2 separate regions of the Homo sapiens genome follow, and region 1 is linked to region 2. The links are contacts of gene promoters, found by promoter capture Hi-C in blood cells and fetal thymus (Javierre and others, 2016). All regions are on one chromosome and are shown on one strand. The core of a region is centred on a gene start or on the middle of the fragment in contact, and the rest is flanking DNA. Distances in the headings are between cores, read along the strand shown.

Region 1 (2,810 bases), core at 159-2,658, 750 kb after region 2:
TGTAATCCCAATACTTTGGGAAGCTGAGGCGGGTGGATCACCTGAGGTCAGGAGTTCGAGACCAGCCTGACCAACATGGAGAAACCCTGTCTCTACTCTAAAAGTACAAAATTTAGCCAGGCATGGTGGCACATGCCTGTAACCCCAGCTACTCAGGAGGCTGAGGCAGGAGAATCACTTGAACCCAGTAGGCGGAGGTTGCAGTAAGCTGAGATCATGCCATTGTACTCCAGCCTGGGCAACAGGAGTGAAACTCCGTCTCAAAAAAAGTAAATTTAAGGAAAAAAAAAAAATACAGCCGGACGCGGTGGCTCACGCCTGTAATCCCAGCACTTTGGGAGGCCGCAGCGAGCAGATCACGAGGTCAGGAGATCGAGACCATCCTGGCTAACACGGTGAAACCCCGTCTCTACTAAAAATACAAAAAAATAGCCGGGTGCCCTGGCGGGCGCCTATACTCCCAGCTACTTGGGAGGCTGAGCCAGGAGAATGGCGTGAACCAGGGAGGCGGAGATCGCAGTGAGCCAAAATGGCGCCACTGCACTCCAGCCTGGGCGAAAGAGAGAGACTCTGTCTCAAAAAAAAAAAAAAAAAAAAAAAAAAAAAAAAATTAGCCGGACGTGGTGGCACGTGCCTGTAGTCCCAGCTACTCCAGCTACTCAGGAGGCTAAGGCAGGAGAATCGCTTGAACCCATGAGGCAGAGGTCACAGTGAACCGAGATCGTGCCACTGCACTCGAGCCTGGGTGACAGAGTGAGACTCCATCACAAAGGAAAAAAAAACAAAAAACACCACACACAAAAAAAACTACACAGACTCCAAGGTTGAGTTTACACACTGAACTGTTCTTGCTTTTGCAGTGTAAGTACTTCAGCCTGCAAATATTAGATTACCTTGGATTATCAGTTTTCTGTCAAAGAAATTTATTCAGTATTTTTTAGTTTTTACCATTCTGTATTTCTAAATTTAATTCGTTCTTCGTACTAAACTTCTGTGTGCTCTTAAAATGAGCTTTAATCTAAACAAATCTGTGTCTACTTTAAAAGACTAAAAAAAAAATTAAATTTTCCCAAATCAAGGATAAGCAATGAATCTGAGGTCTTAAATAAAGACAATCTTGAGTCAAAAGAATGCCAAAAGATTTGGCTGTTAATATGATTTAAATATATTTCAAAAAAGCAATAAAAATATCTCCATATAATCTAAATGCTTTAAGATAAAAGAGTTGAACAAGATAGTCTCTCTTATTTTCAGGTAGGATAATAAAGCCTCTGATTTATATTTTCTTTTACAACAGCCAGGTCTCTGGACATATTGAACTCTTGAACATCTGAATTTCAGTAGACATTGGATTCATTGAGCTCCGTCTCAAAAAACAAAAAAACACAAAACCTGACATCATAAAAGAACAAGAGAAGAAAAAGCAAACTGACCTCTAAGCTAACAGAGGACAAGAAATGAAAATCAGATCTGAACTGGAGAGTTAGACAAAAAAATGATAAAAATATGGAGAAGGCTGGGTGCAGTGGCTCACCCCTGTAATCGCAGCATTTTGGGAGGCCGAGGTGGGCAGATCACTTGAGGTCTGGAGTTCGAGACCAGCCTGGCAAAATAGTGAAACCCGGTCTCTACTAAAAATACAAAAATTGGCCATGTGTATTGGTGGGCACCTGTAATCCCAGCTACTCAGGAGGCTGAGGCAGGAGAATTGCTTGAACCAGGGAGGCGGAGGTTGCAGTGAGGCGGAGGTTGCAGTGAGGCAAGGTTGTGCCACTGCACTCCAGCCTGGGCAATAGAGAGAGATTCTGTTTCAAAAACAAAATGAAAAAAAAAAACAAAACAAAAAACAAACAAACAAACAAAAAAAGAAATCCAGGAGTAAAATCTTTGAAAGAATTAATAAGATAAATAGCACTCTAGAGAGATTAATGAAGAAAGAGAAGATCCAAATAAACACGATTAGAAATGACAAAATGGCCATTAACACTGACCCAACAACAACAAAATAATTATTCAAGTCTGTAACGAACACCTCTATGTAAACAAACCGGAAAATCTAGAATAGATCAATTCCTAGACACGTACATCCTCCAAAGACTGAAAAAAAAAAAAAAAGTATCCCTGAAGAGACCAACAAGATTCAAAATTGAAGTATAATAAATAGCCTAGAAACCAATAAAAAACCAGAATCAGACATATTCACAAAAGAATTCTACCAGATGTACAAAAAAAAAAAAGCTGATACCATTCTTACTAGAGCCATTCCAAAAAATTGAGAAGGAACTCTTCCCCAACTCATTACATAATAGCATTATTCTGATACCAAAACCTGGTATAAAACAAAAAAAGAAAACTTCATGCCAATGATCTTAATAAAAAATGATGGAAAAATTCTCAACAAAATACTGGCAAACTGAATCCAGCAGCACATCAAAAAGCTAATCTACTATGATCAAGTAGCCTATATCCCTGGGATGCAAGGTTATTTCAACATACACAAATCAATAAATGTGATTAATCACATAAACAGAACTAAAGACCAAAACCACAAGATTATCTCAATAGATGCAGAAAAATCTTTCAAGAAAATTTAACATTCTTCATGTTAAAACCCTCAACGAACTAGGCATTAAAGGTACATACTTCAAAATAATGAGTTATCTGTCACAAACTCAAAGCCAATACACTGAATGGACACACAGAAGTTGGAAGCATTTCTCTTTGAAAACTGGCACAAGACAAAGATGCCTTCTCTCATCACTCCTATTCAACATAGCATTGGAAATACTGGACAGAGCAATCAGGCAAGA
Region 2 (2,761 bases), core at 148-2,647:
CTTATTTTTTAAGTGTTATTTACAATTTTTACACTCCTCAGTTAACCTTGGATACAATAATAACTGGTGGTTTTGTGATGGTTTCTTTAGCATTTTATCTATGTTGATTAGTATTTGGAATTCTGTAAAAAAAAATTTCCCTATCCTTTTTTCTTTTTTATTTATTTAAAGTTTTTTGTGTATCAGTGTAAATGCATGGGTATTTATTTATTTGACTTGATTTATTTTATAGGTCAGTGCTCTAATTATTCATTTGGATGCTAACATTGTTCCAGGATGGACCATTGGGAGTTCTTTCAGGCTGGCTCCCTTTGACATGTTCCCATCATTTTTTAAAATTAAAAAAAAAGAAAGAAAAAACATTTTGAGGCTGGGTGCGGTGGCTCACGCCTGTAATCCCAACACTTTGGGAGGCCAAAGCGGGCAGATCACCTGAGGTCAGGAGTTCAGGACCAGCCTGGCCAACATGGTGAAACCCCGTGTCTACTAAAAATACAAAAAATTAGCCGAGCATGGTGGCGCGCGCCTGTGATCTCATCCAGCAGTGCTTTACTTGTAATTATTTTATTCCTGCTGCCGTCTCCTCTTTCTTTGGCCACTATCTGTTCCACCCCCGGAACGGAAGAGAGATGTTGGTAGGGAGAGGCTCTTCCTTCACCTCTGGCAGAAAAGGTTTGCTTGGGCCCTTCACACCGCTGACATCAGAGCTGCACTTCAATGTGGCAGTTATTGGCCATGTGTGGCGCCTGGTCTGAAGTGCGATGCTAGAAAGGTAAAATACAGAGTTAGTTTCAAAGATTTAGTTCCAAATATTTATATACTTTATTAATAATTACATATTTCTCACACATTAAAATGAAAATTTTTTTGATATATTGGGTTAATTAAATTGTTACAATCAATTCAACCTGTTCTTGTTTCTTTTTCAAGTTTGGCTACTAGAAAACTTAAAATTCACATATGGCTCACATTTTATTTCAGAGGATTACCTCCTTTCTAAAATCTCAGCCTGCCTGCTCAAAGACCAGAAAGAAGCCAGGAAGGTCATAAAATCTGAAATTTTAAAATAATTGTTATTATAAAATTATATTTTTTCCTTTGTGAAGAGCCATATATTATTTATAAATGCATATGACTTTACACACAAGTTTAAAGGCAAATTCCCTCTGGGGTGGGCCTGGCTCAGCTCTGGGAGGAAGCCCTGCCTGAGAAGGCTGCAGCCTAGGCTGTCACCCTTTCTTCACTCAGCCCAGCAACTGATCACATCTTCTGTCACTCAGGGCACGAGAAGGTGGGGTTTTAAAAGTTATCCAATCAGCGACGCTGGGTTGGGAACCGTCCAATCAGGCCTGCAGCTGGAGCGGACAGGACGGCTTCGGGGATGTGGCGGGGCCTTTGTCTCTCGCTGCAGCTGGAGCTGCAGGTCTCGCCTTCACTGCCCTGTGTCCTCTGCTCGCAGAGGCCCAGCCTCTGTGGCCCTGTGACCTGCAGGTATTGAGAGATCCACAGCTAAGACGCCAGGTACCCCGGAAGCCTAGAAATGGTGAGAGTGCCGGGTCCGACATCCCGAGAGAGGGGAAGGGGCGGGTTGTAAGCGGTGGGAAGTGGCTGTGGTGGGACTTAGGCCTCCCCGCAGTCAACTCTACAATCTGCGCCCGGAGTTCTCCTTGCTCAGCTCGGCCTCAGTCCCCTTCAGCCATAAGATGGCGGCTGCGCTGACTGCGGGATCCCGGGCGTCCTGTCTTTTCCCTGCGCAGTGACTGGGCCCTGACCTGGAGTCCTCTCAGGGCAGCTCTGGACCCTCAGCGGCGCGTCTCTCCCGGATTGTGCAGGGACCACTGGAGGGTCCCAGGGGTAGAATCCTGACTCGGGGTGCGGGTTTATGAATGGGTCCGTGGGGTTCCAGTTCCTCTTCTGTTGAAAATGTATGGGAGTCACCGTTAAAACACTAAAGCATTTAATCAAAGCGTGATTCAAAAATTGTGGAGCACCCAGCTGTGGTTTGTAATTTATGGTTTATGGGCGGGGCTTGAAGTAAAGACTTTTATAAACAGCATGATGAAGAAAACCAAATTCAGTAATTGGTTAGGTTCAGATACATAGTTTCTTAATTTGTAAAATAAAGGTGAAAATTTCCTGGTTATGTAATTAGATGTTAATTGGCAGTTTATAGTTGGTTAAGGATGAATTTTGTTTCTCTCAATGTAGTAATTTACTAAAAATGCACCTCAGTTAGATTTTTTTTTTTTAAGATGGAGTTTCGCTCTTGTTGCCCAGGCTGGAGTGCAATGGGGCGATCTTGTCTCACCGTAACCTCTGCCTCCCGGGTTCAAGCGATCCAATGCTTCAGCCTCCCAGGTAGCTGGGATTACAGGCATGCGCCACCACGCCCGTCTAATTTTGTGGTTTTAGTAGAGACGGGTTTCTGCATGTTGGTCAGGCTGGTCTCGAACTCCCGACCTCAGGTGATCTGCCCTCCACGGCCTCCCCAAAGTGCTGGGATTACAGGCGTGAGCCACCGCGCCCAGCCAGATTTTTTTAAAAGTAGGAATCCAGGGACTAGAGACACCTCAGTCTAATTTCCCGCCGCTTAATTATTTTCACACTCCATGGGGAACTGATTTTCTGGTGCATTTTTCAACTGTGTCCCAAGCACTGTCTTAAATCTAACCTCCCGTCCCCCATATCTCCAGCCTCACTCTGGCTTGCAGTAAGATATTAAATTTCCAGTTCCTCCTGGCATTCCCTAATGCCAGCTTTT

The links. The method cuts DNA at HindIII sites, captures the fragments that hold promoters and counts their contacts. A CHiCAGO score of 5 or more calls a contact.
Region 1: a contact is called between a fragment that was not itself captured here and the fragment with the promoter of ZNF714 in region 2, in 1 of 17 cell types (fetal thymus). The highest score is 5.3, in fetal thymus.

The regions. Positions count from the first base shown.
Region 1 is chr19:21,828,456-21,831,265 of GRCh38, forward strand. The region is part of intron 1 of ZNF43 (zinc finger protein 43); the gene reads right to left. Among named protein-coding and RNA genes, the nearest start is that of ZNF43, 6.3 kb to the right of the region's middle. The HindIII fragment of the contact is 3,605 bases long and covers 1-2,810 here.
Region 2 is chr19:21,080,806-21,083,566 of GRCh38, forward strand. It overlaps ZNF714 (zinc finger protein 714), which reads left to right and starts at 1,398. Exons shown (of 5, transcript NM_182515.4): 1 at 1,398-1,543. RefSeq lists an enhancer at 1,737-1,886. The HindIII fragment of the contact is 3,534 bases long and covers 1-2,761 here.